Regions from separate parts of the Homo sapiens genome. Here regions 2 and 3 are each linked to region 1. The links are contacts of gene promoters, found by promoter capture Hi-C in human tissues and cell types (Jung and others, 2019). All regions are on one chromosome and are shown on one strand. Each heading gives the region's core, a stretch centred on a gene start or on the middle of the fragment in contact. The rest is flanking DNA. Distances are from core to core; before and after follow the strand shown. Region 1 holds the start of DGCR8 (DGCR8 microprocessor complex subunit). Region 2 overlaps UFD1 (ubiquitin recognition factor in ER associated degradation 1). Region 3 overlaps HIRA (histone cell cycle regulator).

The links. The method cuts DNA at HindIII sites, captures the fragments that hold promoters and counts their contacts. A contact is called where the count stands out against the background at its distance.
Region 2: a fragment that was not itself captured here is called in contact with the fragment with the promoter of DGCR8 in region 1 in 1 of the 25 tissues and cell types used here (dorsolateral prefrontal cortex).
Region 3: a fragment that was not itself captured here is called in contact with the fragment with the promoter of DGCR8 in region 1 in 1 of the 25 tissues and cell types used here (dorsolateral prefrontal cortex).

The regions. Positions count from the first base shown.
Region 1 is chr22:20,077,897-20,081,691 of GRCh38, reverse strand. DGCR8 (DGCR8 microprocessor complex subunit) reads right to left here and starts at 1,451. Exons shown (of 14, transcript NM_022720.7): 1 at 1,309-1,451. RefSeq lists an enhancer at 633-692 and a silencer at 953-1,572. The HindIII fragment of the contact is 8,782 bases long and covers 1-3,795 here.
Region 2 is chr22:19,459,198-19,463,101 of GRCh38, reverse strand. All of the region lies in intron 6 of UFD1 (ubiquitin recognition factor in ER associated degradation 1), which reads left to right. Among named protein-coding and RNA genes, the nearest start is that of C22orf39, 13 kb to the right of the region's middle. The HindIII fragment of the contact is 3,163 bases long and covers 1-2,900 here.
Region 3 is chr22:19,424,333-19,428,143 of GRCh38, reverse strand. The region is part of intron 1 of HIRA (histone cell cycle regulator); the gene reads left to right. Among named protein-coding and RNA genes, the nearest start is that of HIRA, 5.5 kb to the left of the region's middle. The HindIII fragment of the contact is 8,909 bases long and covers 1-3,811 here.

The DNA of each region.
Region 1 (3,795 bases), core at 202-2,701:
GGGCTGGAGCTGTGAAGATGTCAAGGAAAGCTGGCATTAAAGTCAGGAGGCTGGGTGACATCACAAAGGAGAGGGCTACAACAAGAGAGTCTAAGACTGGGCAAGCCAGCCAGAAGCACATTTCCTACCCCAAGGTCACGGTGAGACTACAAAACAACCCCTGGGAAGTGCTCCACACAGCGCCTGGCCGCAAAGGGCTCAAAGGGGAGCTCTCTGCCCGTAGGCCTCCCCACTGCTCCAGCTGACCAAACACCGCATGCAAACCCTGCCTTGCCAACAGGACTATCGGACAGGAACGGGCTCACGGCAAGCTCCCCTGGACCCTTGGCACGGGGAGAAAACCCGTACACTTGGACAGCACCCTTCCTCCTAGCCCACTTGCTGTGTTGGCTAACAGAGGCACTGGCTGTGACGGGCCAGCACCAGTGCCAGCGCCATGGAGGCTGCCTTTTGGTCAAGTCTCTCCCGCTGCAGCCTCCCGCCCAACCCAGCGGCAGTATGACCTCATCCGTTCCTTTTGTCATCCTCCAACAGGCCTCATATCCCGCACTTAGAGGCAACACTGGGTACCCCGGGCTGGCCATTCACTCCCTTTTGTGAGTGAAGGCCTGCAGCAGGGTTTGGGCCACTCCCACAGCTGGGAGTCTAGTCTGGCCAGGAAACAGTGGATCCTCGCCTGGTGGTTGGCCTCGAACAGTCGACAGCCAAAGACAGGACTGCCGTGCAGGAACAAGGTACATGCAAGCATGCAAAAAGGCAAATCAGACTCCTGCCACAAGAAACCCAAGTCCATCGGTTGACACCAGACAGGCATCACTGTCAACAGGTTGCCACCTTCCATTTATTTCCGCCATGCTCATTGTTACAATAAAACCGTATCCCAATTATCTACGTGACACTCAACCCGTGAGCATTCTGTGGACAAAAAGACTTAGGCGACTTCTTGGATTTCCCAAACTGTGTTAAAGCCGGCAGGGTCCCAGGCGAGCACTGGCCCTGTCCACACCTTTCCCGCCTGAAGGCGATGCTAGGCTTCGGGCCCTCCGGGAGAGGAGCCTCTTTACCCGGGCGGACAGCGACGAGAGTCGGCAACGCCTGGGCCCGGGGCCCGCCCCCCAGCCCCGGAGGCGTCCCCACCCCGCGCTCTCCACCGCCCGCGGCCATGTTGCCTCACAAAGGCCGGGCTCCGCGCCCCCGCCCCGCCCGCGGCCTCGGTCCCGGAGGGAGGCGGGAGGGAAGGGCGCGCCCTCGCGCAGGCCGCGGCGCCCGCCCAACCGCCCGCGGGCGCCCCTCGCGCCCCGCACCTACCTGAGGCGCCCGCGGGCTGCCCAAGCCGCCCGCAGCCAAACCACAGCCGGGAAAGCCTCACCGACCGACCGCCGCAGCCATCTGGAAAGCCTGTCCAGGCTCTCCGGTCGCCGGCACCCGCCTGCCGCGCCGGGCGAGCGGAGGGCGGGCCTTCGCGGCGTGCGGCCAATCCCCGCGCGCGGCCGCCCCGCATTGGGGGAGCCGCAGAGCGCGCTGCGGAGGCCGCCAATCGGCGGCGCGTAGCGCGTGTGTCCGCCGCGCGCGGCCCAATAGCGCGGCCGCGCGGGAGGGACCAGGCGCCCAGGCCGCGGTCGCGCTAACAGTCGCTGCCCAGGCGGGGCTCGCTGGACTGAGGGCGGCGGCCGCGAGGAGCGCCGGGAACGGGAAGCACCGGGAATGCCGGGAGCAGGGGAGCGCGGGAAGCTCGGGGAGCGCGGGGAATGCCGGGAACAGGGAGCGCGGAGTACGCCGGGAGCGGACACGCAGACGGGCCACCTTCGGTGGACACTGCAGAAGAGACCGTGCACACACAGGCGTTACACAACCCTGTTAAAAGCATCACTGTATCAGACATCATCATTTATAAAGAACGCGTGTGCTCAACTGTCTGGCGCTGTCCCCTTTGCTAATACAGGATTTCCAAAACAGGGAGGGTTCGGCCGGGCACGGTGGTTCGGCCGGGCACGGTGGCTTGCGCCTGTAATCCCAGAGTTTTGGGAGGTCGAGTCAGGAGGATTACTTGAGCCCAGGAGTTCGAGACCAGCCTGGCTAACATAGTGAGAGCCCAGTATCTACAAATTTTCTTTCTTTTTTTTTTTTTTTTTGAGGCGGTGTCTCGCTTTGTCTCCCAGGCTGGGGTGCAGTGGCGCGATCTCAGCTCACTGCAACCTTTGCCTCCCGGATTCAAGCGATTCTCCTGGCTCACCCACCCGAGTAACTGGGATTACAGGCGCCCACCACCACGCCCGGCTAATTTTTATATTTTTGGTAGAGACGGGGTTTCACCATGTTGGCCAGGCTGGTATCAAACTCCTGGCCTCAATTGATCTGCCCGCCTCGGCCTCCCAAAGTGCTGGGATTACAGGCATGAGCCACCGCGCCGGGCCCAAAATTATTTTTAATTAGCCGCGTGGTGGCGGGCGCCTGTGGTCCGAGCTACTCGGGAGGCTGAGGTGGAAGGATCACCTGAGTCCAGGAGTTCCAGGCTGCAGTGATCCGAGATAGCACCACTTTCACTCTAGCCTGGGCGGCAGAGTGAGACTCCGTCTCAAAAAAAAAAAAAAAAAAAAGGAAAACGAGGGTCTGAGTAAGTGAGGGTACAGCTCTTCCTTAGACTAGCTTTCCTGTCAATAAATGTGGAAGGAATAGTGGAAATAGAAAAATTTTCCACTGGGTAGCCACCCCAATAATAGCTGCTGTAGACGAAAATCTTGAGTGATAAAAATAGTGGGCCGGGCCCTGTGGCTCACGCCTGTAACCCCAGTACTTTGGGAGGCCGAAGCAGGCGGATCACCTGAGCTCAAGAGTTCCACACCAGCTTGGGCAACGTGGCGAAACCTTATCTCTACTGAAAATACAAAAAGTAGCCAGGCGTGGTAGCAGGCACCTGTAATCCCAGCTACTCGGGAGGCTGAGGCAGGAGAATCGCTTGAACCCGGGAGGTGGAGGTTGCAATGATCTGAGATCGGGCCACTGCACTCCAACCTGGGTGACAGAACGAGACCGTCTCCAGAAAAAATAGTGAGCAAGGCCAGGCACAGTGGCTCATGCGTGTAATCCCAGCACTTTGGGAGGCCGAGGCGGGCGGATCACTTGAGGTTAGGAGTTCGAGACCAGCCTGACCAACATGGTGAAACCCTGTCTCTACTATAAATACAAAAAAAAATAGCAGGGCTTGGTGGCAGGTGCCTGTTGTCCCAGCTACGGAGGCTGAAGCTGGAGAATTGCTTGAACCTGGGAGGCAGGAGTTGCAGTGAGCCAAGATCCAGCCACTGCACTCCAGCATGGGCAACAGAACGAGACTCGGTCCCCGGCCCCCAACCCCCTACAAAAAAATTAGGCCAGGCACAGTGGCTTACGCCTGTAATCCCAGCACTTTGGGAGGCCGAGGCGGGTGGGTCACGAGGTCAAGAGATCAAGACCATCCTGGCCAAGATGGTGAAACCTCGTCTCTACTAAAACTACAAAAAAAATTAGCTGGGCATGGTGGCACGTGCCTGTAGTCCCAGCTACTCGGGAGGCCAAGGCAGGAGAATCACTTGAACCTGGGAGGCAGAGGTTGTGGTGAGCCGGGATCACGCCACTGCACTCCAGCCTGGGTGACAGAGTGAGACTCCATCTCAAAAAAAAAAAAAAATAGTGGGCAAAAACATGACAAACAGGTTTTGTTTTGTTTTCAGTGTTGCAAAGTTTCTCCCCCAGGATACTAATTGCCTAGGGAAAATAGTAGTTTTAGAGTGGAAGAAAACTTGGGCGACACCACCTTTA
Region 2 (3,904 bases), core at 70-2,569, 620 kb after region 1:
TTATAATGTATAACAAACAGAATAAGCTACAGGTAGAAAATACCAAATACAGAGAGGTAAGCAGGGAGAAAACACAGTACCTTCAGAAGAACAGCAAGTAGCAGGTCTTTGAATAGCAACAGTTACAGCCAGTATCAAGTAACTATCATCAAAACCTTCCTTAAAGAATAAGGGCAAAGTGAAAATATTTTCAGATGAACCAAATCTGAGAGAGGTTATTTACCAATGGAATTTTAAAAGCATGTACTTTAGGAATAAGCATTATCCTAGAAGGAAAGCAAGAAGGAATAGGGAATAAATAAATTGGCAAATATGAATCCAGGGTAAATGTTGCCATATAAAGCAGTAATAATGTTTAATGTATGAAGCTTAAAAAATGACATCTAAAATGTTGGAAAAGAGTAAGTCTTTAGACTTACTCTCTTTTTTTTTGAGAGAGTCTCTCTTTGTCTCACCCTGGCTGGAGTGCAGTGGCGCGATCTTGGCTCACTGCAGCTACCACCTCCTGGGTTCGAGCAATTCTCCTGTCTCATCTCAGCCACCTGAGTAGCTGGGACTACAGGCATGTGCCACCACTTGCGGCTACTTTTGTATTTTTAGTAGAGACGAGGTTTCACCATGTTGGCCAGGCTGGTCTCGAACTCCTGACCTCAGGTGAGCCATCAGCCTCAGCCTCCCAAAGTGCTGGGATTATAGATGTGAGCCACCGCGCCTGGCCTAGACTTACTCTCTTGAGAGAGTTGTTTAGAATTAAAGTGTTCTCTGTTTACAATTCAATAAAGTTAATAAAAAAGATAGCTGAAGCTGGGTGTGGTAGCTCACACCTGTAATCCCAGCAATTTGGGAGGCTGAGGTGGGTGGATCACTTAAGTCCAGGAGTTTGAGACCAGACTGGGCAACATGGCAAAACCCCATCTCGACAAAAAATACAAAAATTAGCTGGGCATGGTGGCATGCACCTGTAGTCCCAGCTACCTGGGAGGCTGAAGTGGGAGGATCACTTGAGTCCGGGAGGCAGAAGTTGCAGTGAACAGTGACCGTGCCACTGCACTCTAGCCTAGGTGATAAAGCAAGACCTTGCCTCAAACAAAAAAAAAGCAAACCCTGAAAAGTCTACATGCATATTGAATGTTTAAAAACAAATAAAATGAATTAGATAAAGCAAATATCTTGAAAGATAAAACTGTGAAAAATTTTATACTAAGAAATGAGCCAACTTATTTGACATTGATAAATTATTTCCTAGAGAAAAGTGTAATTGAAGTTTGACTAAAGAAAAAAAAAAACAAACAGCCTAAATAATTGTATAGCCAGTCAAGTAATTCAATCAGAAAAATCTTAATCCAGGAAACACAGGCCCAGATGGTTATATATGCAAGTTCTTCCTCACACTCAAGCAATAAATTGCTCTTAGATATTCTAAAAATAGAGAAAGAACATATCCCCCAACTCATTCTCTGAGGTCGGCATAACCTTGATCACCAAAACCACACAAGGATAGGAGAAAGGTAAACTACAGATCATTGTCACTTGATACAGATACATAGATTGTAGATAAAATATTGACAAAAGAATCTGGTCATATATAAGGAAGATTCTATACGGCAGCTGAGTGTAATAAAGCTCCAGTAGTTAAGACACCATATGGCATTGGTTCTGGAGTAGACAAGTAGGCCAGTGGAAGAAAGCTTTATATACAAAGAATCTTGGTCCACCACTGAGGCAGCATTGATGTCACCAGGCAAAGGAGATACTGGGGTTGCGGAATCTGGGATATTGACTATTCCTAAGATGAAAAAACAAATTGAGTTCCTAACTCATACCATAGTCAAAAATAAATTGCAGATGAATGGGTAAATAATATGTGGTACACACATACAATGTAATATTATTCAACATTAAAAAGGAAGGGAATTCTGACACATGCTACCACATGGATGAACATTCTGCTCAGTGAAATAAACCAGATGCAGACAGACAAATACTACATTCCGCTTACATGAGTACTTAGAGTAGTCAAACTCATGGGAGACAGAAAGTAGAATCACCTGGACACCGTGGTTCACACCTGGCATCCCAGCACTTTGGGAGGCCAAGGTTGGAGGATTGTTTGAGCCCAGGAGTTTGAGAGTAGCCTGGGTAACATAGTGTGATCCTGTCACTACAAAAAATTAATGAAAAAATTTTAAAATTAGCTGGGCGTAGTGGCATGTGCCTAGTTACAGCTATTCAGGAGGCTGAGGCGGGAGGATCAGTTGAGTCTGCAGTGAGCCAGGGTCAAGGCACTGCACTCCAGCCTGGGGGACTGAGCAAGACCCTGCCTCAAGGGAAAAAAAAAAAAAAAAAGAATGGTGGTTGCCAGGGCCTCGAGGAAGCAGGAATCAAAAGTGAATGTTTAGAAACGTATAGTAATTTGGCATTGTCATAACCTCCACACACATGGCCACAGAACCAGTACTTGTCTTGGTGAGCTCTGGGCGTCTGGTGTGTGTTGTGTCTTGCTTCTGTGCAGGAGGACCACATGGCAGTCCAGCAGACTGCACATTTTTAAAAACTAGGTCTTCCCAGGTAGTTTGAGGAGCACCAACCTAGAAAATTGGTCCCATAGTTTAAAAAAAAAGTATTTAATATTATGCCAATACATAAAAGTAAATGGAAAATGTCACAGGAATATTTATCCTTACTAAATGCAATAGTACTTCTAGGGTACTGTCTTCCAATTCTTTCCTTTTCAGTTCTGCTTGCAGCCCTGTTGGTTTTATGACCCACTGATTATTTGTGGCCTTTTGAAAACATGAAAACGGTAGAGAAGCATGAGCCAAGCCCTAGGAGACATGTTTGAATGTTTATAGTAGTGTCATTAACACAGCAAAATGATTGGAAACAGGCCGGATGCTCAGTGGATAAGTGGTAGTATATCCACACAATGACAGATCCTTTTTTTATTCCTTATCTATTCAATAATTATGACACTTTTAAAAGTAGATTTGGCCCTGCTTAGGTTTTTTTTTTAAATGGTGGGACTATCCAGACTTTTTAAAATGGTTGTAAAAGCAAGACATACTGGCCGGGCATGGTGGCCCATGCCTGTAATCCCAGCACTTTGGGAGGCTGAGGCGGGTGGATCACAACGTCAGGAGTTCAAGACCAGCCTGGCCAACATAGTGAAACACCATCTCTACTAAAAACACAAAAATTAGCTGGGTGTGGTGGCACGCACCTGTAGTCCCAGTTACTTGGGAGGCTGAGGCAAGAGAATCGCTGGAACCCGGGAGGCGGAGGTTGCAGTGAGCCAAGACCATACCATTGCACTCCAGCTTGGGTGCCAGAGCGAGCCTCCATCTCGAAAAAAAAAAAAAAAAAAAAGCAAGACAGACTTTAGATAAAAGCAAAGAACCTGAAATGATGCAGGAAAAAGTAGATAGGGCCACTTTTAATTTCTATGCTTCTGGAGTTTGTTTGTTTGCTTGTTTGTTTGTTTGTTTTTGACACAGAGTCTCGCTCTGTTGCCCAGGCTGGAGTGCAGTGGCCCGATCTCAGCTTACTGCAAGCTCCACCTCCTGGGTTCACACCATTCTCCTGCCTCAGCCTCCCGAATAGCTGGGACTACAGGCACCTGCCACCACTCCCAGCTAATTTTTTGTATTTTTTAGTAGAGACGGGTCTTCACCATGTTAGCAAGGATGGTCTCATTTGCCTGACCTCGTGATCTGCCCTCCTCGGCCTCCCAAAGTGCTGGGATTACAGGCGTGAGCCACCACGCACGGCCCTGCTTCTGGACATTTTTTATGTGCCTTTTTTACATAGGTGAGGTCATCTTAGACACAAGCAACATGACTGGTTTTACAATTATTTTCCTGTTGGCTGCGTAGCATACCATTGTATAACTGTAAATTTACATATG
Region 3 (3,811 bases), core at 346-2,845, 650 kb after region 1:
ACTAGCTGTAAATTCTTGGACTTATAACTCTACTTCTGGGCCTTGGTAAAATAAGACTTACCTCTTCCATTTTATCCTGGGACCAAATATAAAAGATTGTTAAATTGAAATATAATAGCTATCATTTATATAGAAGATGTGTCAGTTATTGTTCATACATACACATTTTACTTCGTGTTCTTGGATACAGTATTCTCTATATATTTTATTTTAGAATTGACCAAAATAAGCTTTATTTCTAAGTTAGGTTAAGGTCAGAAAGTAAAAACAACTAGGTTTCTGGTTTTAAAGTTTGTAGAAATATGGAGTTTGTATGTTTAGAAAATCTCGTTGAGATTCATGGCTCTTCCCAACTCTGGGCCTTTGCTCCTGAGTTTTTTCTGGAATTCTCATGCCTGGGCAGACAGCGCTTATGCTCAGCTCTTTGGTGAAGCCAGTTCTAACCAAGAGGGCCAGGACTGAAAGAGCTCTTGTCCACCTTTGGCCTTTGGTTCACACTTTGATGGCAGTGTTATGAAAAGGGATTTGGGAAATTTTCAAGAACAGGGTAATTTGCTGGTAATCACATGGCCTTATGGTGTGTATTTTCTCCTGTCCTGCGATTGGATTATTTTTACCCCTACCTTGTGTCATTCTGAAAAGGATTTGAAGCTGTCCTACTGAGACATCAGCATGAAAATTAAATAATTCAGCTTGAAGGGAAAATGTAGGCAGAATCATATAATGATAAAGTTAGGAGTGGGTGGGTAAGGTCCAGCCTGCTGCCGGAGGGCACTGCAGACCTATGTCTGAGAATTGGCAGGGAAAGGATCCTAATGGTGAGGTTATATGATTGCAGTGGTTGAGAGATAAACATGGCAGTTGCTTTAGATCAGTGGTTCTACAGGGCAATGTCTAGAGACATTTGTGGTTGTCACAACAGGGTTGGGCAGGGTACGTGCTACTGGTATCAAGTGGGTAGGGGACAAATCTGTTAAACATCGTATAGCATGCAGGACAGCCCACTCATGGAGAATTATCTAGCCCCAAATATCAATAGTGCTAAGGGTGAGAAACCCCGCTCTGAATAAGTTATTTGCCTTTTGGTGTATTTGTCTTACAGTTCCGACTAGACTGTAAGTTTCTTGAGGACAAGAATTTTGTCTTCTGTTTTTGGAATCAGATATCCTGCTCTGGAGTCTCTGTGCCCTGCTGCTTACTAAATATGTGACATAAAAAGTTTTTCCATCTCTTCCTAATCTGTTCATGAAGTCAGTAATTCTTGCCTCACCTGCTCCATGTGGTAGCTCAGAAAATGCAAATTCTCTCAGCAATTTCTCTCCTGACTTATGCCTGAAGACAGTAGGTTGATTTAGGAAAATAACCAGAGTACATCTGAAGAGTCAGAAGAAAACTGGGTGAGATTTTGCTGTGGATTTTTCACTGATTTATGCAACAAACATTGAACCTTTCTGGTAAGAGTTCTGTGGGGACCAGAGGTAAATAAGGCTCTCTCTCTGAACAGAAAGCTGTGTGGAAGATAGATGAGAGAGATTGACATACAAACCGTATTCTAGAATGCAGGGCAGGGGAAACAGGAGCTAGAGGAATAAGCGTGATAGCCCAAGGAGGAAGGGCACTTCACCAGCAGAGTCGGGTTTGTGGATGTGTCCTTGGACTGAACCTTGACGTGACTAGAATTGTGATGGCAGAGAAGGCGCTACAGCACATGAGACCATCAGGAGAAAAGGCCCAGAGGGTGAAAGCATTTAGGGAAAGACATAGAACATGTTAGGAGGGAGGCTAAACAGGGCAAGAGGGAGAATGGGGCTGGGAGGCAGAGCCTTGCCAGCAGCTTGAACTTCCTTCTTGGGGTTAGGGGAGAGAGGAGAACATTGAGGCTTCTGAGGAAGCTGGATGAAACACCCAACCTGTGTCTTAGGCAGGCCCTAGAGGAGTTAGGAATTTCTAGTCTTGGTGAGATGCTCAGGGAGACAGGGAGATCACAGGTGATGGAGGTGAGAAATAGAGAGGCACTAAAGACAGGGTAGAGGTAGAATTAATGGGACTTGGCCATGTAGGCAGGTGACTGTAGATTTGGGCCACTCTGAATGTATTTATTTACTTATATATTTTCTTTATTTATTTTGAGACAGAGTCTCGCTCTGTTACCCAGGCCAGGCTGGAGTGCAGTGGCATGGTCTCAGCTCACTGCAACCTCCACCTCCCGGGTTCAAGTGATTCTCCTACCTCAGCCTCCCGAGTAGCTGGGATTACAGGCACATGCCACCACGCCTGGCTAATTTTTGTATTTTTAGTATTCGGTATTTAGTGTTTTTGTATTTTTAATACACATTTTCGCCACGTTGGCCTGGCTGCTCTCGAACTCCTGACCTCAGGTGATCCACCCGCCTCGGCCTCCCAAAGTGCTGGTATTACAGGTGTGAGCCACCGCTCCCAGCCTCTCTCTGAATTTATTTCTTTAATATGCTGCAGAAAGAATATGGATGAAGGCCAGGAAATGGGATTTTCTTAAACATTTGTTTTACTCTAAGAAGTGGTTGAAAACTATTTTCACTTTATGAGCAGAATCATAGTTACACAGCTGGGAGGGACTTCTGAGGAGCGTCTGGCCTTGACCACTGAAGCCAAGTAGGAGACCTGCTTCCACTGTGCTGATCTTGGGTCCTGTCGGTGACCAGGAAGAGGATGCTCTGTGTCTGGCTTGACCCCTCCCTTTCCCCAGAGGTTGCTAGCATGTTCTGTTCATCCGGGGTGTTTGCCTATGGACTGCAGAAGTGTCTAGCACATGAACCAGAGGTATGGAATGAGCCCTGGGGACCAAAAATTTATGCAAAGCACATTTTATCATCCTGCCAGAGTCAGCAACAACACCTAGAAGTGAGTGGGATTGTGAACATTGTGCATATTGTCAAATAGCACAAAGGGAGTGTTGCAAATATTGTAGGGTTGCCTGCCTTGTTCCTTGTTAGCAGAACCCCAATTTTTTTGGTCTGCCTTCTGCAGGCCAACCTGCTGATAGCCCTAAGCTGATGTGTGGGTAAATGCCAAGGATTTGTTGAGGAACAGCCATGTGATGCCATTTTGGCCCTTGAGACTAGGAGGGGACGTCTGCTGGGACCTCCTAGGGAATTAAATAAGAGGAGATGCTTGACAGGCTAGTCTCTTCTGCTGGACTTTACTAGGTCTGCGTGTAAAAGCCAGCTTGGAACAGGGCCGACACTGATGACAGGAGAGGAAGACAGAGGGACACGTCTCTTTAAGTTGCTAAATTAATGCACCCTGAAGCTGACCTATCTCAGGACTTGTTATATACGATAGAAGATTACCCTCGAAATTCTCTATGACTTGCAGCATTACAGTTCACAGATGGAAACTTAGGCTGAGTGAGATGAGGTGACCCCCTGGCACCAAGATTCCACTAGATGTGATGGAGATGTGTTGAGAGTCACACTTAGACTCCAGCCCAAGCCCAGACTTACTCTTTCTAATTTGCTAAGCACTGGTCTTTGTGCTGAGGCTGGCCACTCCGTCCTGGAGAGCTTCAGGCCCATTTCCTCCTCAGAAGGACAGCTTTCAGAAACCACGTGGTACAGCATGGGACCAGGAGTCTGGTCCCTGGAGCTTGTCCTCTGACTGCTTCTGTAGCCATTCTGAGTGCCTTGGGGCTTCTAACCTGGTAGGTTTCTCTTGAAATGTGCTTGGTGAGCCTTTTCTGGCATTTGATTTTCAAGAGTTCTCTGGTTGTGGGGTATCGAGAATGTTTTCAGTGAGAAGCAGAAGGGAGAGGTCTGTGCCCCAGCCTTGGACT